4 separate regions of the Homo sapiens genome follow, and all the other regions are linked to region 4. The links are contacts of gene promoters, found by promoter capture Hi-C in blood cells and fetal thymus (Javierre and others, 2016). All regions are on one chromosome and are shown on one strand. The core of a region is centred on a gene start or on the middle of the fragment in contact, and the rest is flanking DNA. Distances in the headings are between cores, read along the strand shown.

The links. Contacts are between HindIII fragments. The CHiCAGO score rates a contact against its expected background, and 5 or more counts as called.
Region 1: a fragment that was not itself captured here is called in contact with the fragment with the promoter of FXYD6-AS1 in region 4 in 10 of 17 cell types (naive B cells, M0 macrophages, M1 macrophages and 7 more); the score reaches 7.8 in naive B cells.
Region 2: a contact is called between a fragment that was not itself captured here and the fragment with the promoter of FXYD6-AS1 in region 4, in 2 of 17 cell types (total CD8 T cells and naive CD8 T cells). The highest score is 6.4, in total CD8 T cells.
Region 3: a contact is called between a fragment that was not itself captured here and the fragment with the promoter of FXYD6-AS1 in region 4, in 2 of 17 cell types (non-activated CD4 T cells and naive B cells). The highest score is 6.2, in non-activated CD4 T cells.

Annotation. Positions count from the first base shown.
Region 1 is chr11:118,137,622-118,140,875 of GRCh38, forward strand. The region is part of intron 4 of SCN4B (sodium voltage-gated channel beta subunit 4); the gene reads right to left. Among named protein-coding and RNA genes, the nearest start is that of SCN4B, 14 kb to the right of the region's middle. The HindIII fragment of the contact is 851 bases long and covers 1,165-2,015 here.
Region 2 is chr11:118,114,446-118,120,448 of GRCh38, forward strand. TMPRSS4 (transmembrane serine protease 4) reads left to right here. Exons shown (of 13, transcript NM_019894.4): 10 at 384-482; 11 at 693-835; 12 at 2,860-3,009; 13 at 3,457-6,003. The coding sequence ends at 3,468. Among named protein-coding and RNA genes, the nearest start is that of SMIM35, 30 kb to the left of the region's middle. The HindIII fragment of the contact is 2,433 bases long and covers 2,131-4,563 here.
Region 3 is chr11:118,092,261-118,098,933 of GRCh38, forward strand. It overlaps TMPRSS4 (transmembrane serine protease 4), which reads left to right. Exons shown (of 13, transcript NM_019894.4): 2 at 2,556-2,595. LOC105369517 (a long non-coding RNA gene) reads right to left here. Exons shown (of 4, transcript XR_007062904.1): 1 at 6,627-6,673; 2 at 6,099-6,186; 3 at 2,889-3,011; 4 at 27-274. Among named protein-coding and RNA genes, the nearest start is that of SMIM35, 8.6 kb to the left of the region's middle. The HindIII fragment of the contact is 494 bases long and covers 3,580-4,073 here.
Region 4 is chr11:117,831,975-117,838,325 of GRCh38, forward strand. FXYD6-AS1 (FXYD6 antisense RNA 1) reads left to right here and starts at 1,744. Exons shown (of 3, transcript NR_186291.1): 1 at 1,744-2,087; 2 at 4,295-4,528; 3 at 5,194-6,345. All of the region lies in intron 6 of FXYD6-FXYD2 (FXYD6-FXYD2 readthrough), which reads right to left. FXYD6 (FXYD domain containing ion transport regulator 6) reads right to left here. Exons shown (of 8, transcript NM_022003.4): 8 at 5,007-6,303. The HindIII fragment of the contact is 9,424 bases long and covers 1-2,989 here.

The sequences.
Region 1 (3,254 bases), core at 340-2,839, 310 kb after region 4:
GATCGTGCCACTGCACTCCAGCCTGGGCAACAGAGCGAGACTCTGTCTCAAACAAAGAAAAAAAGAAAGTTCTCAATAAAGCTTAGCTGTCACCTAGTTGTCTCAACATGGCAGGAAGCAAAGGGCACCAGGTGCTGTTCTCAGGGGTCAGTTCCCAGGCTGTGCCACGCCAGGGGGAGGGGTCCAGGCCAGCAAGGAGTATGCTGAGGACACAGAGTCCCTCTCCCCAGGGCCCCCCAGGCCTTCCTCCCTGAGCTCTCCGTGACTAGAGGTATTAAGGGAAGAACAGAGTCCATGGAAGGGGCAGAGCAGGCAGTGGGTTTGGCTTCAAGGGTGACAGGTCTAGGCAGAGTTTGGTGGGACGGAGCAGAAGACAGGAGGAAGGAGAGATGGTGAGATGGGAAGACACCTCCCGGGAGGCGTTCCACCCTGACCGCTCTGAGCTGGACATGCTCCAACTTCAGTGTGTCCCTCCTCCACAGCAGCGCCCAGGCTGGGCACACAGAACTCCCCAGGGAGCACCTGCATCCCTCTGAGCTTTCTGCTCATGAAAATGGCCAAGTTTTTCACAGCTGCTACAGCCAAACTACATCCTACCCTCACCCTGGGCTTGGGCAGCTGGGTTTGAGGCCTTTGGGAAGGACTGAATATTTTGTCCTCATTAATTTCATCTTGCAATACCTAGTTCCTAGCTCCAGCCTATCAAGATCTTCCTAGATCCCTTTTTCTTCCAACATAGTTACTAGGCTTCTGGAAGTTGATAAATGTGACATCCCTAGTGTACTTCAAATGTTAGTAATAACAATGAACAGGTGGAGCCCTGTGGAATACACTAAAGACCTCTATTCGGATGGATCCATCTCTCTCTCTCTGTCTCTCTCTCTTTCTTTCTTTCTGTCTCTGTACCTAAGGCATAGTTAACCCAGCCAATTACGACCCACCGAACTGTATTCCACGCAGTCCATAATTCTCTACTGAGAACCTACTGGGTACCAGGCACTGTGTCGGAAACGTGCACTCTCCTAGGGCATGTGACATTAAACAAGTGATTGTGACACACTGTGGTAAATAACAGGATGGGGGATGTAGGAAGGAGGGACCCAACCTAGGAAGCCTCCTCATAGGAGTCAGGGAAGCTTTTTGGAAGTATACCTTAAACTTCCAAGCTTCTTTGAAACCAAGAAAGATGAGCAGGAAAAGAGAGAGGGTAAATTCCAGACAGAGGAAACAGCACCCACGTTTCAGAATCAATGGTGAGATGTTGTCCAGTACCTCCCTGTTCTTGAGAAGCCACTGTCTCTGCTGTAATGCAGGCATTCCCCGCCACTCCAAGGACCTCCCTCAGGCTTCCCTACGGTCTGTCCCCTGCCCCCAGGCTCTTCCACCCAATCCCTCCGCCCACCATGGCCAGATCCTTTCTTCTGTGCTCTCTGATCGTGCCAGGGCCCTGCAAGCCCTCGCCAGCTCCCCTGCCGTCGGAAGTCAATCACAGCCTCGACTCCCAGGTCCCCAAGTGTCTGTCCCCAACCCCTTCTGCAGGCTTTTATTCTCCTCCCCACCACCTCACCATACAGCTCTCTCAACAAACAAAAGGCTTGTTCTCCAGACAAGCCCACTTCCCAGACTCTCTGCCTTGGCTCTCAGTGGTGCCTCCATCTGGAAGAATCTTCCCTTTACTCTCCCCAGGGCTTAAGTTATATTAATCTTGCAAGGCCTGCCACAAACACCCATTCAGCCAGAAATCCTTCCCAGAATTTCACCCTGCCCTGAACCCCCACAGCAGCATCGTATCAAACCTCTTTGCTGGCACTGATCCCCTCTACCTTGTATTACATTTATTTGTATACACATTTATTTGTATCTTGTCTTCTTTAGTTAAAGGCAGAATCTCATTCCTTCCATAATTTCCTATAGCATCTGGCACAGTGCCTCAAAAACAGCCACAAAATGAACAGATAAATGAATGAACTCTAGATATGCCCAGTGAGTCAGTAGAACATCCTGGCAATGGTTTAAGCTTTGAAGCCAAATTAGTCACAGTTCAAATCCCAGCTCTATCACTTACTAGCTGTGTGGCCTTGGGCAAGTCACTTCACTACTCTGAGCCTCACTTTGCTCAATTGTAAAATAATAATTATGGGTAGTGTATAAAATTGCCTGGTGGAATTCCTAACATATGGTAGGCATTTGATGAATGACAGGAAGTGGTATTTTCCAGAGCAATCTCCTGTTCTGCCAGTGCCTTATCAGGAGACATCTAGCATTCCTTTTTTTTTTTTCTTTTTTCTTTTTTTTTTTAAGAGACGAGCTCTTGCTAAGTTGCCCAGGCTGGACTCAAACTCCTGGGCTCAAAGCATCCTCCTGCCTCAGCCCCCCAGGGAGCTGGGACTTCAGGCACACACATCCAGCTTAGCATGTCTTGTTTTTGATGAACCCACTGTGGCTCTGAAGGACCACCGTTGTCTTTTCTAAGTGCTTTTAAACCATATATTGACAAATTTGTTCTCCATCCATTGATAGTAAGACTGGTTATGAAAAACAGAACCTAATTAAGCTCCACGCTTTTAGCCCCTCTCACGATCACCAAAACCCTCACAGCCTCTGGCCACAAGGCAGGCAGACAACCCTTGAGCTCTTCATCGACAACCCAGTTCTGGGGTCCTCCCCTGCTCCCCAGCCCCAGCGCTGCTACCTGTATGGCCCCTCCCTACCTCCAACTTCCATCCCCTCTTTCTAGAGTAAGTTCTGCCCTTTACAGCAGAATTCCCTCTTCTCAGCAGAGCAGAATGTTTCAGCAAATAGGGGCAGAGGAGTTCTCCATTCTCTGCATCTCGTGGTTACCATCACCCTCTCTGTTCCAATGGGAAGCCATCTCGTCGCATCTGTCTTGCTCAGAACACAACTTTCAAATGCCTTTTCCCTGCTCTAGTTTTGCAAGATTCACCACATGCTGCTCTGGAGCCTGTCTGATACTGTTCCAAAAATTTGGGGCCTGAGGGTTGCACCCTCCGTACCTCCCCCATCTTCCCTCCCCTTCCCCTTATAGATGTCTATTTTTATACCTGAACTTATCCTAGGGCTCCCTGGGAGGCCATATCTGCCTTTTCAAACTTTTAAAACATCACCTCCATCTGAATTTTCAGAAATTCCTAACAGAAGAATTTTGTTCCCATCTCCCTAGAAGAGTTTTCTCATTTTAGAGTCTCTGTACATGGAATCTTACATTTTCACTGATTTTTTCAAAGGCTCCTTAA
Region 2 (6,003 bases), core at 2,097-4,596, 280 kb after region 4:
GGCTTCCATGGGCAGGTCTGGCCAAGGTAGGGTAGGCAAGATTGAGCATGCTCAGGATTGGATAGTGTGGACAATTCTCTAGGCTATAGATGTCAGCCTCTGGTTGTCTAGTATCTGTCCCTGGGGTGATTTAGGGCAGGGAAAATATTGGCTTGGTGTCTGAGAGTCAGATAAAGGAAGTGGTTGGGGATATGGGCTTTGGGTTGGCTGGTTTGCCTATTAAAGGCGTGCCCAAAGCCAAGTTGTTTACTATCTGCAGGAATTAGCTAACCCAGTCTCTCCCAGACCAGCAAGATCCCCATAATCATAAAGCATCATAATTTACAGAAAATTAACACTTATGATGAATAAAAGATCTCCTTCTTCCTCTGTGCTCCTGGCAGGCACAGTCAGGCCCATCTGTCTGCCCTTCTTTGATGAGGAGCTCACTCCAGCCACCCCACTCTGGATCATTGGATGGGGCTTTACGAAGCAGAATGGAGGTAAGTCCTGGGTGCAGGACCACAGGGCAGGAGATGCCCTTGTATGAGGGAGCAGCTTCCAGAAGTAATGGGAAGGAGGACCACCCTTCAGAGAAACCCATCCTGGAGGACCAAGCACCAAGGCGCCAGGCAGAAAGCAAAGTGGTTTGGCAATCCAGGGCTGGGGGATAGAAGGCAAGGATGGGAATGTGAGTGTTTTTACCCTCCCAGGGAAGATGTCTGACATACTGCTGCAGGCGTCAGTCCAGGTCATTGACAGCACACGGTGCAATGCAGACGATGCGTACCAGGGGGAAGTCACCGAGAAGATGATGTGTGCAGGCATCCCGGAAGGGGGTGTGGACACCTGCCAGGTGGGGCCTCCAAGAATCATGGGGAGTTCTAAGAATAGGGTTTAGGTCCTAGAGAGATGAGAAAACCCAGAGGCTGCATGCCCTACAGGAAGCCTTGCATATCATGGGCACTCAATGTGTGATGATGGGAGGAAGAGAGGGAGGGAAGGAAAGGATAGTCAGATAAAAGTGTACCAATAGATGAGTGGGTGGATGGATGGATGCAGACAAGCAGAGAGATTTCAAATGTCTCTTTCACATTCGAAGATGATGTTACTGGCCTGGCATGGTGGCTCACGCTTGTAATCCCAGCACTTTGGGAGGCTGAGGCGGGCAGGTGATTTGAGGTCAGGAATTCAAGACCAGCCTGGCCAACATGGTGAAATCCCATCTCTACTAAAAAGAATACAAAAATTAGCTGGGCGTGGTGGCACGTGCCTGTAATCCCAGCTACTTGGGAGGCTGAGGCAGGAGAATTGCTTGAACCCAGGAGGCAGAGGTTGCAGTAAGCTGAGATTGCGCCACTGCACTCCAGCCTGGGTGACCCAGCAAGACTCCATCTGAAAACAACAACAACAACAAAGATGACATTACTCATCCACCCCACCCACCCTTCTCACTAGCTACAGAATGATTAGCCCCTTGAGGTCAGGAATCCCAGGTCTATTTTCTCTGTGACTCTCCCCAAGCTGCTGAACTACACTAGGAAAGAATTACCGCCTGCAGAATGCTGGAAGCACATCTGTGTGTGCCCTCACCCCGGCCTCATTGGCCATCAGGACTGCTTAGCAATCCCTGTAGACCTTCTTCCTCCCCCATACTTCCAGAGGATCTTCTGAACTATTTTCTTTTTTTATTTTTTCTTTTATGTTTTTTAACAGAGACAGGGTCACTATGTTGCCCAGTCTGGTCTCAAACTCCTGGGTTCAAGGGATTCTCCCACCTCAGCTTTCCAAAATGCTGGGATTACAGGCATGAGCCATCGTGCTTGGCCTGAACCATTTTCATTAAAACCCCTACCCTACTCTCACCTCCATTTCCAGTCATTAAATTCCTTCATTTAAGAGGCATCTCTTAGTCATCGCATGTGTGCCATGAACATGGTAGTCTTTGGAGACCCCTCAGGGAGCTCACAGTGGTTGGGGGAAAGGGGGGCATTAAACAGACATTTAAGCTATAGTTTTGGGTTCAGAGGGAGGAAGCCCCAGGGGCTAAAACAGCTGATAAGGACTCCCAGATAAGTGCACTTTTCACTATCTGGCATTTTCTTGTTTTGTTATTTGCTTGTTCACTGTCTCTCACCCCATTTGATCCTAAGCTTTCTGAGGGCAGGGATCTTTGTTTTTTTTCATCAGTTGGATCCCAATTGCTTAGAACACTACCTGGCACAAAATAGGCACTCTATAAGTGATTACACAAATTTTGGAACGACTAGGTTAAACAATGATAACCAGGCTTTTTTTTTTTTTTTTGAGACTGAGTCTCACTCTGTTGCCCAGGCTAGAGTGAAGTGGTTTGATCTCGGCTCACTGCAGCCTCCGCCTCTGGGTTCGAATGATTCTCCACCTCAGCCTCCTGAGTAGCTGGGATTACAGGTGCCTGCCACTATGCCCAGCTAATTTTTGTATTTGTAGTAGAGACGGGTTTCACCATGTTGGCCAGGCTGGTCTTGAACTCCTGACCTCAAGTGATTCACCCGCCTCAGCCTCCCAAGGTGCTGGGATTACAGGTGTGAGCCACCGCTCCTGGCCAACAACCAGGCTTTTTTAAGACATCACTCAGAGCCTTTAATTTGCTAATGTGAGTTGTGAATCTCTGAGAGAAGGCTAACGGCATGCTTGCAACTTACTTGTCCACAGACAAGCCTTTCTGCCCCAGAAGAGAAGACCATTCTAGGGTGCTAATGAGCAAAGAGGGTGAGGGTGGAATATCGGAGAGCAGCAGGGAGTGCAGGGGAACAGATAGGCCAGTTCAGGGAGCAGAGAAGGAGAAGCCCCCCCACCTCACCTGCCCTCCCCAGCAGTCTCTGTTCTGGTCTCTCACAGGGTGACAGTGGTGGGCCCCTGATGTACCAATCTGACCAGTGGCATGTGGTGGGCATCGTTAGTTGGGGCTATGGCTGCGGGGGCCCGAGCACCCCAGGAGTATACACCAAGGTCTCAGCCTATCTCAACTGGATCTACAATGTCTGGAAGGTAAGGTACCTTTGCCCTACCCACTGTGCCTTCCCTCCAGTCCTCTACCTGGGGGGTGCCAATCCATCCTCAGGTTTGATTTAAATGGTTCTGACAACTCTTTACATCCCAAATAACTTTCCCTCCAAGCAAGGGACAGCCTGAGATTGCACTATTAAGGCTGAAATTCCTTAGGTCAGAGATTTCTGATAAATGCAAATACCTTAGGGAATAGAACACACCAAGCCTTTCTTTCTCTTTTCTGACAGAATGAGACTATCAGATCCTTTCTAGAGAGAAGATTCTGATAAGGAAGAGAGTGGAAAGGCTCATGAGACCTCCTGGCCCTCTGCAGGGTAGGGAGAGAAGCAAAGTGTTTCAGAAAAGGAAGACTCACGTTACACATGTCACCACTTTGTCCAGTTTCAGATAATCTGACTTTCTCTTCATCGGTCTCTCTTATTCTAGGCTGAGCTGTAATGCTGCTGCCCCTTTGCAGTGCTGGGAGCCGCTTCCTTCCTGCCCTGCCCACCTGGGGATCCCCCAAAGTCAGACACAGAGCAAGAGTCCCCTTGGGTACACCCCTCTGCCCACAGCCTCAGCATTTCTTGGAGCAGCAAAGGGCCTCAATTCCTATAAGAGACCCTCGCAGCCCAGAGGCGCCCAGAGGAAGTCAGCAGCCCTAGCTCGGCCACACTTGGTGCTCCCAGCATCCCAGGGAGAGACACAGCCCACTGAACAAGGTCTCAGGGGTATTGCTAAGCCAAGAAGGAACTTTCCCACACTACTGAATGGAAGCAGGCTGTCTTGTAAAAGCCCAGATCACTGTGGGCTGGAGAGGAGAAGGAAAGGGTCTGCGCCAGCCCTGTCCGTCTTCACCCATCCCCAAGCCTACTAGAGCAAGAAACCAGTTGTAATATAAAATGCACTGCCCTACTGTTGGTATGACTACCGTTACCTACTGTTGTCATTGTTATTACAGCTATGGCCACTATTATTAAAGAGCTGTGTAACATCTCTGGCATAGGCTAGCTGGAATGCTTGATAAGAACTGAGCTGGGATGATTGAACTTTCATTCTTTGGCTTGGGGAGAAAAGAAGTCCTGGGGAAGCAATTGAGTCTCAAAGTAGAGGCAGGGGAAAAAAGAGTTAGGGAGACCAGATCTGCTGAGTGGCAGCAAGAGTGAGCTGCAGATTACAGAAACCAGGGTGAGCAAGTTTGAGTCCCACACAGGGCCTTCTCCCTTTGCCTCTTTCCCTCCCTCCCTGCCTGTGATAATCAGCCAGGAGCCAGGGATAACCTATGACTTGGGAAAGAGATGAGTTAGGCAGTCAAGGGTGACATTCAATCAGGGATCCACAAGTGGCTGGAAAGAAATGCTGGTCCTGTGTCCTAACTTTTTCCGCCTGGAGAGCCCTCAGTGTGGCTTCTTACATTTAAAAAACAAAAAGGATCAGCTGCCAGGTGTGAGGCAGTCCCCAAGCTGAGTTGTGAGGATGTAAGCATGAATAAGTCCCTGCACTCAAAATGGTCAAAGAATTAAACCCCATGGACTTTTTTGGCATCTGTATGAAAGCTTGGGTTTTCTGAGGACTGTCTTGCTATAGTTAAGTCAGATCCTAGATGAAATATACTTGTTCATACTGTACTAGGTTCTTAGGAAACAACAGAATTCCTCAAATGCCAAAAACAAAGAAAATAGAAACCCAGAAAACAAAACAAAATAAAACAAAACCATCAGAACTGTGAGTGGAAACTAAGGTGATGATCTGGGAGCAATACACTAAAATCTTGGGTCGAGACCTATATGAAGGCTGGCAGTGGAGCTAAACCTGGACACACTGAAGACAAGGGAGCTGAACCAGGGCTCCTACATGAAGCAGGGATAACTGATGGCAGTAAATGTGGTCTCAAATTGCAGATGGTCTGGAGGAAAATTTCCCAAATTTAGAGCCTCAGGATTCCCAAAGATCCTCCAAATATGAGCTCACAATCAAAGATCAGAGACGTTGAAAAATAAAAAACACCTTAAGTGGGCAGCATAAAAAACAGCTAATTTAGAACCCCAAAGGCTTCAGATGTCAGAATATTAGAGACTTATGATAATAAGCAATATTTGCAGAGTATTTGTATGTGCCAGACACTATTGTAAGTGCTTCATCATGTACTGATTCATTTAATACTCACAGAAATCTGTGAGATGGGTATTATTCTTATCCTCACTCTATGGATTAAAAAAACTAAGGCACAAAGTGGTTAAGCTCCTTGCCTGAGATTATAGACTGTAAGTTGAACGTGAGCACTTGGAATACAGAGTTCATGCTGTAAACTACCACACTATAGGGCCTCCAATATGATAATTTATAAAATATTTGAATAAAAAATGAATACTAGTTCCACATTTTAAAATCATGTTTAACTGTGGTCAAATGCACATAACACAAGTTGCCATCTTCACCATTTTTAGGTGTATAGTTCAGTGGTGTTATGTACATTCACACTATTGTGCAGTCATCACCACCATCCATCTCCAGAACAGAAACTCAGTACCCATCAAACAACTCTCCATTTCCCCCTCCTCCCAATCTCTGGCAACCACCATTGTGCTTTCAGTCTCTGTGAACTGGATTACTCTGGGTACCTCATTTAAGTGAAGTCATGCAGTATTGGTCTTTTTGTACTTGTTTTATTTCACTTCACATTGTGTCTTCAAGTTTCACCCATGTTGTAGCATGTGTCAGAATTTCTTCCCTTTTTAGACTAAATAATATTCTATTGTTTATACGAACATTCAGGTTACTTCTATCTTTTGGCTATTGTGAATTATGCTGCTGTGAACATGGGTGTACAAGTATCTCTTTGAGGCCCTGCTTTCAATTCTCTTGGGTATATTCCCAGAAGTGGAATTGCTGGATCATATGGTAATTCTATTTTGAATTTTTTGAGGAACTGATATATTGCTTTCCATAGAGACTGCACCATTTTACATTCCCATCAACAGTTTGCAGGAGTTA
Region 3 (6,673 bases), core at 2,577-5,076, 260 kb after region 4:
AAGAGTAATTCACGCAGAGCCAGCTGTGTGGGAGACTGGAGTTTTATTAGTACTCAAATCAATCTCCCCAAGCATTCAGGGAGCAGAGTTTTTAAGGATAACTTGGTGGGTGGGGGGAAGCCAGTGAGCCAGGAATGCTGATTGGTCAGGGATGAAATCATATAGAGTTGGAGCTGTCTTCTTGCGCTCAGTCAGTTCCTGGGCGGGGGCCGCCAGATCAGATGAGGCAGTTTATTGATCTGGGTGGTGCCAGCTGATCCGTCAGGTGCAGGGTCTGCAAAATATCTCAAGCCCTGATCTTAGAAGCAGTTTGGGGAGGGTCAGAATCTTGTAACCTCCAGCTGCATGACTCCTAAACCATAATTTCTAATCTTGGGGCTAACGTTAGTCTAGTCCCCAGACAAGAAGGCAGTCTGCTCTGGGAAAGAGCTGTTACCAACTTTGTTTAAACTATAAACTAAGTTTCTCCCAAAGTTAGTTCTGCCTACCCCTAGGAATGAACAAGGACAGTTTGGAGGTTAGAAGCAAGATGGAGTCGCTAAGTTAGATCTCTTTCACTGTCTCAGTCATCATTTTGCCAAGGCAGTTTCAATGGGAGGGCAGAGGAAAGAGAGTTCCCATGTGAGAGCCCAGCATTTCCCACCAGACAACTCATGTAAACCTCACAGTAGTCTTTTGAAGCAGGTTTTATTGTCCCCACTCTACAGAGGGTAAGCCTGGAGCTCAGAGAGGTGAAGGATCTTTCCTGAAAGCACACAGTTAATAGGAGGCCGGTCTTGTATTCTGACTCGACCCCTGCAGACTGCAGAACCAGGCTGTGTGCTACATCACAAGGCCACCCATGGCCTAGTGTTACCCAAGGGCAAGGCCAGGCATGTCCCTCCATCAGACTACAGGCTCGTTTGGGAGGGAACGAAAGAGCTCCTTCCTATTGCTGTGTCCACCGTGCTTAGCCGTGGAGCAAGCAACACCCAGGGACCCTCCCTCCATATCTAATCTGGGTCACCCACTCAGGGATTAAAAGAGGCCCTCTCACTCCCAAGAGGAACAGAAAAAATTTCCAGCCAGAAATGTACAAGGTCCTGTGACTCCTTCAACCACCACCAAGGTGGGTCATGACCTCAGCACAATAGGGCAGGCGAGTCCCTGGGTGGAGACCTAGACCACAGGGTTCAGAGGGCATAAACCCAGACAGCATGCTCCTTTTAACCTTTGCCTGGCAGAAAGGGCCTGCATTTTTTTGTATGTGAGCCTTTGTGTCAGTGGCTCCTCCATGTGACTCTGTGGCTGTGTGCGTGCTGAGTGCACACATGAAGTGGTGTAAATAGAAATGCCTTTGCGTGTATTTGTGCACATGCGTCGACGGCAGCCTAAGACCACTCTCTCAGAAATATCATAATGTTGATAGCACATATGTAGTAAAGTACTCAAGTCTAAAGTCTACCACCCAGTGAATTTTTGCACATATAAACACCTATGTAACCAATGTTGAAAACAAGATCCAGAAGTTTTCCTATGTTCCAGAAGACTCCACTGTGTTCCTTCCAATAACTAACTGCCCCCCCCAATGGTAACCACTATTCTGACTTCTATCACTATAGATTAACCTTGCCTTTTAAACTTTATATAAGTGAAATCGTACTTTTTGTGACTATTTTCTTCCCTTCATCATTATGTCCATGGAATTCATCCATGTCATTGCACTGAGAATGTTTATTCTTGTCTATTGCTGAATTATATTCTATTATATGAAAATACCAGTTTATCCACTCTACCAGTGACTGACGTTTGGGTTTTTCCAATGTTTAGCTATTACTAATGAAGCGACTATAAACTTTCACACACAGGTTTTTTGCTGGACATTTGTACTCATTTCTCTTGGCTCTATCCTGGAGCACAATTGCTGGGTCAGAGAATCATAAAATACTTGTACGTTTAGCATTAGTGGATTCAGCCAAACCATTTTCCAAAGTATTTGTACCACTTTACACTCCCACCAACAAGGTCTGAGAGGTCTTGTTGCTCCACATCATCATCAACACAGTATTATTAGTCTTTTAAATTTTAGCCATTTAGTATTTATGTAGAGAAATTTTATTGTGGTTTGAATTTGCATTTGCCTGATAAGTAATGATATTAAGCATTGTTTGGTACTTATTGGCCAGTTGAGTATTCCTTTTTGTAAGATGTCTATTCAGAGTTTTTACAGAAATATAGTATCTGTAAACATAGACAAATTATTGACAAAAACAGATAGTAGAGCAGAATCATCTTGAGGAATTCAGCAATTTACACAAAAACCAGCAGCCAGTTGCTTCTACAATTGCTAACCAGTTGCTACTAGTTAAGTAAACTAATAAGTAAACTAATTGAAACAGATCAAACAGGTGCATGACTGAATGTTTCCTGTTGAACCAGGTATTTGGATAACACAGAGACCCCCAACGTAGACTCAGGGAGAAGGGAATGTAGACAAGACCCAAGAACCTCCCGTAGGCTGCTAGCCCCAGCCTGAGAGGCTCCCTGCCTCAACTCACTGACTGTTTTTCCTTCAATTACAGGATCCTGACAGTGATCAACCTCTGAACAGCCTCGGTAAGTTCAGGTCCGGCTTTCATTCGTCCACCTTAGCCTCTGAGTTTCAGCTACCAAGTAGATCCTAAGCCACTCGCGCCTGGCCCTCACCACCACCACCAAAGTGCTAAGTGCCATGAGTGACATCCAGTCACCCGTCCATCCATCACTCAGCAAACATTCCAGGATTCATTCCAGAAGTAGGAGGCCTGGACTCTGGGGAAACAGGACCAACAAACCTAAAATCCCCAAAGCAATGATTCTCCAATTCATTCATTCAGTCACTCTTATCCTTTCAGTAAAACTGTACGTACCTGCCATGTGCCAGGCCCTAGGCTGGATGCTGGGCTATAACACTAATTAAGACAGCTGAAGTCCCTGGTGTCATGGAGTTCACATTGGCCAGAGGCATTTTCATGAAAAATGGCAGTGCTTGCCTGATTTCCAAGGGAAGAAAACTAAGTTAATAAATAGAATGATCCCAAATTTAAGGAGGTATTTTTCTTCCATTACATTTTCTTAAACCATTAATATCTACTCCTGATAGCCTACTGGATCAGCAAAACAAATGAGCAAGGAACACGTTAATATGAACAGATCAGTAAGAAAATGGCCAATCCTGCTTGACGGGCTATGTATTTCTCAGTTCTGGGTCATGAGTTAATAATGACCACAAATGAAGTAATCTTTAGCAAGTAAAATGGTGCCTAGTTTATACTTTGGAATTCAATATAAGAGTAGGCCATGGTGTCCCCAAGGAACACCAGGGTGCCAACTGCTCCGCCACCTGAGCAAGCCTGAGAACTCTCAAACCAGAAAACAAGCTGAATTTGCTCGAGGACCAGGGAGTGAACGTGACTATGCAGAACTGGGGTTGGTGAAGACTAGCAGTGGAAGTCCATTTGGCTCAGAGAAAGAGGCCAAATTACACTGGCTTTGAAAGATATAATCCAGATGTGGAAGTCTCTTGTAGGCCCTCGAGTAAGAAGTGACAGGATGAAAGCAAGCTTTTAGGAAGCTCTGTCTAGCTGCAGTGGGCAGGACAGGCTGGAGGGAGGAACAACAGCCGGCAAGGAGGCTGTTCATAGCTCACTGGGTTCGTTAACTTAAACTAGGTATGAAAGCTCGTTCCTTCCTGATGGGGGAAGCAGATGCTCCCTGAGAATGTCTGGTCTTGGACACAGGAACCCATGGCTCCCCATGGGTCACTCACTCTTGGAGAAAACAAACAAATCTCATGTTCCCAGAGGTAGATGCTCAATAAATAAATCATGCATGAATTCATGAACAAAATGTCATCATGGCCATGGCCACAGGAAAGAGGACAATTCTGAAGACTGGCTGCTGGAACTTTAAAAACAGTATTGGCAAACATTACTGATAAGCTACTTTGTGCCAGGTCATAGTTCACAGGCAATACCATTCCAGTCCACATCCCCACTGCGTGGCCTCTGTGTCTGAAGTTAAAACATTCTTTTGGGGAAACACAAAGTGTCCTAAGCTTTCCTTTGTTAACAGATTCATTAATACTAGCATTCATTGGGCGCCAATCTCTAGCAGGATGCCATTCTCCACTTTGGAAGAGCTGAGGAAAGAAATAGAGTCAGACATATGATTAGCCATCATTCAAGGCAGAATAAAATGTGACCTGTAAGAAAGGTAGAAGGGGCCGGGCATGGTGGCTTATGCCAGTAATCCTAGAACTTTGGGAGGCCAAGGTGGGGGTGGATCACTTGAGCCCAGGAGTTTGAGACCTGTCTGGGTAACATGGCAAAACCCCATCTCTACAAAAAATACCAACGTTAACTGGGTGTTGTGGCACATGCCTGTAGTCCCAGCTACTTGGGAGGATAAGGTAAAAGGATGGCTTGAGCCCAGGAGGTGGAAGTTGCAGTGAACCAAGATCATGCCACTGCCACTGCACTCCAGCCTGGGCAGCAGATTCCATGAATGAAAGGGAGAGAGAGAGGAGAGAAAAAAGAAAGAAAGAGAGAAAGAAAGAAGGAAAGAAGGAAAGAAAGAAAGAAAGAAAGAAAGAAAGAAAGAAAGAAAGAAAGAAAGAAAGAAAGAAAGAAAGGGAGAGAGAAAGGAAAGAAAGAAAGAGAAAGAAAGAAAGGAAGGAAAGAAAGAAAGGAAAGAAAGAAAGAAAGAAAGAAAGAAAGAAAGAAAGAAAGAAAGAAAGAAAGAAAGAAAGAAAGAAAAGGAAAGAAAGGAAAGGAAAGGAAAGGAAAGGAGGTAGTAGAAGGGACGTACTTAAGAGAGCAGAGCCAAGAACAATTCATCTGTTCAGGTGACAAATATTTGTTGAGCAATTGCTGTGGACCAAGCACTGTTCTAGGCACCAGGGACTTAGCAGTGAACAAAACAGACAAGTTCTGTCTTCAACGAGTCTTCATTTCATGGAGGGGCGGGAGGAGACAGAAAATATACAAAATAAGTCAAATATAGAGTTTGTTAGAGGTGATGCGTGCTTTGGAAGAAAAAAAAAGCAAGAAAGGAGGATAGGAAAGGTTGGAAGGCTGCATTTTAAATAGGGAGATCCAGGAAGGCCTCACTGTGAAGGTGACAGTGAAGAAAGACTGGGAGGAGGACAGGGAGCCAGTCATGTGGAGGTGAGGGTAGGAGAGCCGGTCCGTTGCTTTCCAGGGTTTCCAGAATTCTTGCCCCATCTCCCCCAGGGCAGAAGTCCCCATGGCACCTCCCCAGCTTATTTCCCACAAGGAGTGGGGGACTTAAAAGAATGTATCTCTGATACTTACTGATATTAACTTTGCCTATGTTTTCCCTTTCCCAGGTTCCTTCTCCTTGGATAACCATGTGCAATTGACAATGTAGTTATTATCACCTCTGTTCTAGGCAGTGATAAGCTCCTACCTGGTCTCCCTAACCCCAGACTCTTTTGTTCCAATCCACCTCCTCCCTGATGAAAGATCCATCTTTCTTTTTGTTTTTTGAGGTGGAGTCTTGCTCTTGTCGCCCAGGCTGTAGTACAATGGCACAATCTCAGCTCACTGCAACCTCCGTCTCCTGGGTTCAAGTGATTCTCCTGCCTCCGTCTTCCAAGTAGCTGGGATTACAGGCATGCACCACCATGCTGGCTAATTTTTGTATGTTTAGTAGAGACAGGGTTTCACCATGTTGGCCAGGCTGGTCTTGAACTCCTGACCTCAGGTGATCCACCCACCTCGGCCTCCCAAAGTGCTGGGATTACAGGCGTGAGCCACCGCACTGGACCAGATCCATCTTCCTAAAATTAATTTGATCCTGTCTCTCCACTGTTCAAAAACTTTCAATGGCTCCTCACTGCCTTCAGGATAAAACCCAGGCTCCTTAGCATAATGTTCAAGAGTCTCCACAGCTGCCTTCACCCATCCTGCCTTCCAACTTGCCTTTATTCCCCTGGTACCCCAGGCACACCAGGCAGCCTACAGGCACCCTCCGTGCCTCCGACAGAGCTGAGCCAGTGCCTCCCTCCCAAACTGCATTTAAGTGCCACCTGCTGAGGGAGGCTTTCACCAGCTTACCTTTGAAGATGTCTCTATTATAACATATATTATCTTCCACCTGGCTGGGCTGGCATCTGTGTCTGCCTCTTCCCCCAGATGGTAATCTCTTTAAAGACAAGGACCAGGCTAGGGACTTGCTGTTTGTGGGATTGAGGATGCATTGATTCACAAGTATTTATTAAGCCTCTACTAAGCACACACTGTGCTGGAGGCCCCTGCCTCCCTGATGCTTAATGTTTAATCAAAAGCTAAGTCAGGAGGTCAGGAAAAGGATAAATGGTGGCACAGTGAATGGGTACGTGCCCCAGGGGCTCAGGCCTCTCTCGGGCAGGCGAGGGTCAGACAAAACCCAGAAATGTCCTAGGACAGGCTCAGGCAAGACACGGGGGAGGTGGCCTGACCTGGGGGCTCCTTTGAGCGGCACTCAGGAAAGATAGGTGAGCCTGGATAAGTAAGAAGAGGCAGGGTAACCACGTGCTGTTGAAGCTAAGCCTAGTCTGCAGGAATAACCCCCCAGCATTAACCAAAACTGTGCTCAAGGCATACCTGTCACCGGCCAGAAGGCAGGAGGCTGTGGAGTTTGGCTCAGGGAT
Region 4 (6,351 bases), core at 494-2,993:
CCAGCTCTGGCCTTTGTGGGAGTTTACAGCCTTGAACTCCAGGTCCCCAGATCAGTTCCTCCTGGTGTTGGCTTGCAGCTGGAAAGGGGCTCCAATGAAGCAGAAGCCAGAAGCACCTAGAAAGCCATGACCCCAGGCCCAAGTCAGTCCTCAGCTGCATAACCCGTATGGCCACTGGGCAGGGAAAGTGGCAGTTCCCAAGCCCCATTTGTCCCACTCAGAGGTCCTGAATCCTGAGGAACGCTGGCTCCTGCCTCCTGCTATGGTTGCAGGTGCCAGGTCCCTGGGGTCTTATAAGGCAGGGCTGGAAGGAGGTGGGCCCCAGAGGGTCCATTCCTTAAGTGTTGGCTTCAAGAAGGCCTGAGCCATGGTGCACAGAGGTTCTGAGAACTGCCAAAGGGCAATGTACTCTGAGAGTCAAGGTCACCAGCTGGTGACAAGGGCAAACCCATTTGACCCACCTCCCCCACAGTGAATGCCTTGGAGAGAAATGCATTCTTGACTGTTCTCAGAACTCACATCCAGGCTTGAACCACAACAGAGCCCATTCCTCTCCAGCTTTTCTTGGTTTTCTCCTCCCAGTAACCAAACTCCCTCTCACCTCTGGGAGAGGCTCGCCACCTCCGGGAAGACCTCGCGGAGCAAGCCCACCCCTGGTTACTCTTACCTTCCCTCCACCACCTTCCGGATGCCACTGACATGGCTTGAATGGCCAGCATGTGGCCGTGTCACCATTCTCTTCATTTATAGCACAGATTGCCAAGTCCCTGGCCTCCTTGAGGCCTCAGGTCGGGTAAGCTGTTAAACGTTTGTACCTGCACTGAGCCTGGTGCCCACTCTCCACACTTGGCAGCAATTCCACCCTATTCCAGGGTCTCAGTGGTTCCAAAGAGCTGCTTAGAGCCTCCCAACAATTCAGCCAGGCAGGCTGTGAGATGCCCATTTTACAGAGGACACTGCAGGTGGTCTGCAAACAGGTCAGAACATGAACCCAAGTCTAACAGAGACAAGAGGAACCCGGCCATCAGAGAATGAGGAGACAAGGAAATGGATAGTGATGCCAACATTTATAGCATAATGGCTACATGGAGAATTGTCACGGTGCTTCGATGTCCATTGTATCACTTTGACCCTGTGAGATAACAGAAAACATCTTGATGCATTTATTTTATAGGTGATGAAACTGAGGCTTAAGTGGCTTTTCCAGGGTTACACAGTGAGCAGGAGGCCCAGCTTACCCCAAAGCTAGGAAGGACTTGATTATTCAGAAAAGGAAACTGACAGAGAGGCTGGGGTCTTTCCAAGCTCACACTGTTAGAGCAGAAGGGACCTCGGGGATGTTCTGAGCCTCAGGCTCTACCAGACTGCCTCCAAGCCCAGCTCAGAGGTAGGAAACCGTTCTTCTGGATAGTGCAGGGGGGCCCACCCCCTCCAGTCCCTGCCATCCAGGTCCTTCAGGACATGCGATCACAGCATCACCTGCTCTGCCATCATTGCCTTGGCAGGTGCCCCACTGTTGTGCAACCAGGCCCGGGGCTGGGCTGGCCCCATCAGATCAACAGCTGGTTGGCTTGAGCCGGCTGAGTCTGCCCCCCTGGAGCTCAGCTGTGACAGCAATAAATCACACTAATGGAGAGAGGTGGCCATTCCTTCTCTGTGGCCTGGAGACAGGTTTTTCCAAAGCTCCTCCCCTGGCTCAGGCAAACACACCTGACCTTTCTCTCGCTGGGCCCAGGGTGAGGCAGAGCAGCCAGGAACAAGGTGGGGTGAACCAGACAGAGCTGGAGTGCTCTCCCACCCCTGCTTTGCCCAGCCTCCCCGCCAAGCCCATGATTCCAAGCAAGGTAAGGCCCTCCTCCCAGAGGAAGGGGCCAACAGCCCGGTGACCTTGGAGTGTGCTTCGCCTGGCACTCCCCTCACACCGCTCCCTACAGCTTGTACTCTGCCTCTGACTCTCTTCCAAGAACAATTTGGCAAGTTCTAATCTACATCTTGCAAAAAAAAAACAAAAAACAAAAAACAGAGAGGTAGGAGGGCCACAGCACCTGGGGTCCCAGAAGGCAGACTGACCTATTCCTACAGCAGGGGTAAGTAACGCAGAAAACCTCCAGGCAAAGAGACATGGAGATCTTCGAAATGGAATGGGGGGTGGAGGGAGTCACTGGGAGGCAAAAGGTGTGGGACACCTGAGGTTACTGAGACAGGGAACTTGGGATTCCCTTCTGGGAAATGACACAGCATGGCAGCTGTCCTTCTTATTCAGTCAAGCTACATTGCCTCATTAAACCAAATCACAGCTACAAACCAGTGCCACATGCCTGGAGGCTGAGTGGACACTCCTGGTCCTCCTCATGGAGATATATAGCACTCTGAGTTCTGATCCAGCTCATCTGTGTGAAGTCCTCAAACAAGCACATAGTAAGTGCTCCATAAACTTCAGCTGCTCATTTTTTTTAATTATTACCATTTTGACCATCATTTCTTCGATTGTTCTTCATGTGTCTTGTTTCCAGACCATTAGACTCCCACAGGAGGCTCCTTGGAGCATGGTCCAGCTAGTTTATGTCTTGAAGGGGCAGCCATGCTCCAGGTGCAGTCTTGGGAGCCATCTGATCACTGTCCCTTCTTCTGAGCATCTGCCTGCTGAAGGAGGCTAGGCCATGTGCTGACAAGCACTATGGACAGACAGCCCGGGGTCAAGTCCTAGCTCCTCCATCCCCCAGCTGTGTAACCTGGACCAGGACGATTGTATCTCTGACCAATCTCAGAATATAGCTGGATTACTAGGAGGAAAACTAAGTGAGTGCTTAGAGGCGGGCAAAGTAAGGATAACCATTTGTAGATGATGTGCTAGAGATGCTGACCATCATTCCTTACTCTTAACATAATTATTATGAGAAAAATTAGAACCTCCTCATTGGACTTCCTTATTCCTATGTCGAAGTATAATGTTCTGTTTTTACTAACGTATGGGGGGCGGCACACACAAAGCTTTGCATGTCTAGGGCCTCTAGGGATCTCAGCCTGGCCTCGCTATGAAATTTCTGCAAGGCCTGTCAATTCCCTGATGTATCACGAGTGTTCCCGAACAATAAGCTCATTTACCAGGTCTTGCTGTGACCAGATAGTTTTTAATCGCCATGATCACTGGGTTGACAGGTTGAGCTTGAGCTCTACCATAAGCCTGTGTCTTTCCAAAGGCCTGGGGGACCGAAGGCAGAAGCAAGAGCACACGTAGAGAAGGCACCGAGCAAGCGGATCTGTGCGGTTCTTCGGTTCTAAACAACTTGCGGAATCCAGGCGGACTCAGGGCCTGTGTGGCCACTGGGCAGGGAAGGTGGTGGTTCCCAGGCCCATCGAAACCACAAGGAGCACTGACTTCTGTCTCCTGCTATAGCTTCAGGTGCCAGGTTCACTGGGGTCTTAGAAGTTGGGGCTGGAAGGAGGTGGGCCCAGAGGGTCCCGCTCCTTAAGTGCTGGCTTCAAGATGGAAGATATTAAGACGTTCCAGGGGTCGATTCTTTTTTCAAGACCCTAAGATGTTCCAGGCTTCTGTAGAGCAGGCACAGTCCTTGCCCTCCAGGAATTGTATCAATAAAGACACAAAACACTAGAGGCAGAAGCTGCACACAGGCAACCTCCACGCAGAATCTGCCCACATCTGTGTTGGTTTGGCCAACAGTGGTTTTTAGAAAGTTGAGTCAGAGTGTCTTTGGGAGGACACCGTAGGTGACTGCAGGTGCCATGCCCCATCGTCACTCCAGCAGATTCACATATTGGCATTACCTGCCTGGTCTCTACAGTCTGGATGCCAAGTATGAAGTGTGAATATAAAGGCAGCAAACAAGTGTGATTGGGGCACAAGAAAGGGATTCGGCTGGGCGCTGTGGCTCACGCCTCTAATCCCAACAATTTGGGAGGCTGAGGCAGGCAGATCACTTGAGGCCAAAAGTTCGAGACCAGCTTGGACAACATGAAGAAATCCCGTCTCTACTAAAAATATAAAAATTAGCCGGGTATGGTGGAAGGCACCTGTAATCTCAGCTGCTCAGGAGGCTGAGGCAGGAGAATCGCTTGAACTCAGAAGGCAGAGGTTGCAGTGGGCCAAGATAACGCCACTGCACTCCAGCCTGGGCGACAAGAGCAAAACTCCATCTCAAAAAAAAAAAAAAAAAAAAAAAGGGATTCGATTCTACCTAATGCCCAGGGAGGCTCCACAGAGGAGGGGTATTTCACAATCCACGTCACCCACCCTGTCACTCCCTTGATCCCTTCCTTCCTTTTTTCTTTTTAGAGACAAGGTCTCATTCTGTTGCCCAGGCTGGAGTGCAGTGGTGCAATCACGGTTCACTGCAACCTGGAACTCCAGGGTTCAAGCAATCCTCCTGCCTCAGCCTGCCGAGTAGCTGTGACAACAGGTGCGAGCCACCATGCCCAGCTAAGATTTCACCATGTTGCCCAGCTGGTCTTGAACTCCTGGCCTCAAGCAATTCTCCTGCTTTAGGCTCCCAAGTTGCTGGAATTACAGGTATGAGTCACCACCCCTGGCTCTCTTTACAAGTCCTTAGGTAGTGGCCCCAGAACTGACCAAAGAGAAATGTTAGGATGTTTTACTCCAGGCCACTGAGTACTTGGAGAAGCCATTGTGACTCCCTTTTTTGCTCCAAGACAGTGTGCAATGTACAGGTCCTGCTATGGGATGTGGCTTGAGCCCAGTGGCCTGGGAAGGCGGGAGAGAGGGAGGGAGGAATAGAAATGGCGGGAAGGTGCGGGACGAAGGGCTGAGCAGGAGGAGAGGAAAGTGAAGGAAGAAAAGGAAAGGAGGGAAGAGAAGCGGGGAGGAGGCAACAGTGACAGCAGCTGACGGGGCTCTGTGCCTGCCTGGGTGGCTATCCAGTCCTTCCTCTTCCCTCTGACCATGGACGGACTCCCTCTAGCCCTTTAAGTTCCACAGACCCTACAAACACTCAAGTTCTTTCACAGAAAGGAAAGCACCTCCGAGCCACTAGGAAACAAAGGATATTTTATTCCTTTTTTCTGTTGTTGTTGAGGATAGATCACGATACAGAGAACAGCAATGGGTCACAGCGCACGGTTTGGTTGGTTTCCGCGGGAACACAGAGGACAGGAGGGGCGGGATCTGGGTTGAGTTCCCACTCTCGTTATGACCTTCAACCTCTCACTGTTCCCAAGGGCTGCACGGAGCCTGCTGAGTCTCCAACCCACCTCGCTCACCGCTCTGACCACTGACAGGCAGAGCAAAGGATGCGGGAGTTGCCTCTGCTGCCCATCTAAGGGGACGTAGGCAGAGAAGCAAAGGCCTCTGCTCTCCCTCCATCCATCCCGGTGTGCTGGCCCCAACGGAACAGGAGTCCTTCAACTATTGCCTGCCAGAGACCCAATTGCAGGGACTGTAGTCTGCATCTGGATGAGCTGGGCTGTAGATTGAAGTCTCAGAAGCAGGGAAGGTTGGAAGGGGTAGGGTCCCAGAGCCCATGGAGTTATTGCTGAGAAGATATGCAGGGGACACATTCCCCAGGGGCAGAGTAGAAGCCCTGGGCCTGGAATCCCCGGGCGCTCTGTGAAGGGGCGGGGCAGATGGGGACTCCTCGTGGAAGCCCCTGGGAAGAAATTAACCACGGAAGGGCATAGCCTGCCTGACGTCAACGCTGGGCTCACCAGCTCCTTGCTTTGTATCTCCAGTTGCTAAGAGACCTTCAGACTGGGATCAGGTGGGATAAGGAAGCAAGGTTTTTGTTAAAGGAGTGAAAGGAGTCCATGAAGAATGATGACAAAGTGCTGCAAACCTTCCCAGGTCCCAAGACGACTGAAGACCACTGCCCGTGCTCTTACCCTACGCATCCCTAAATCAGGGGAGGGGGCTGGTCTCGGGCAACAAGCAGCCTCCTAGGAGCAGAAGGTGATGGAGGGCCACGGGGGCAGGGAGGAGCAGATGGCCATGTGGCTCAGCCCCTGCCTGGGAAAGCGAGTCCACAGTTCACTAACAAACACAATACCATCCACAAACAAGTAGCCACAAAGACCACAGTTAGCAAACACACACAGTCACACACACACACACACACACACACATCACGGGAGGTGGGCAGGACCGCAGGCTGCAGTGGGGAGGCAAGTGTTAGTTGCATCATCAGGTGGAGGAATGGTGTTAGAGGGGATAGGGTGGGGGACACACAAGTTCTTGGCTTCTCCTGGGGAAAGGGCTGTTGCTGAAGTGGCCGGTTTTCTTAAGCATCGACATTTGCATCCAAAGGTTCAAGCAGCCGCCTCAGGTTCCAGAGGCTGAGGAGGAGGATAATTTAAATTAAAAACACTTCGGCTGCCTCTGGT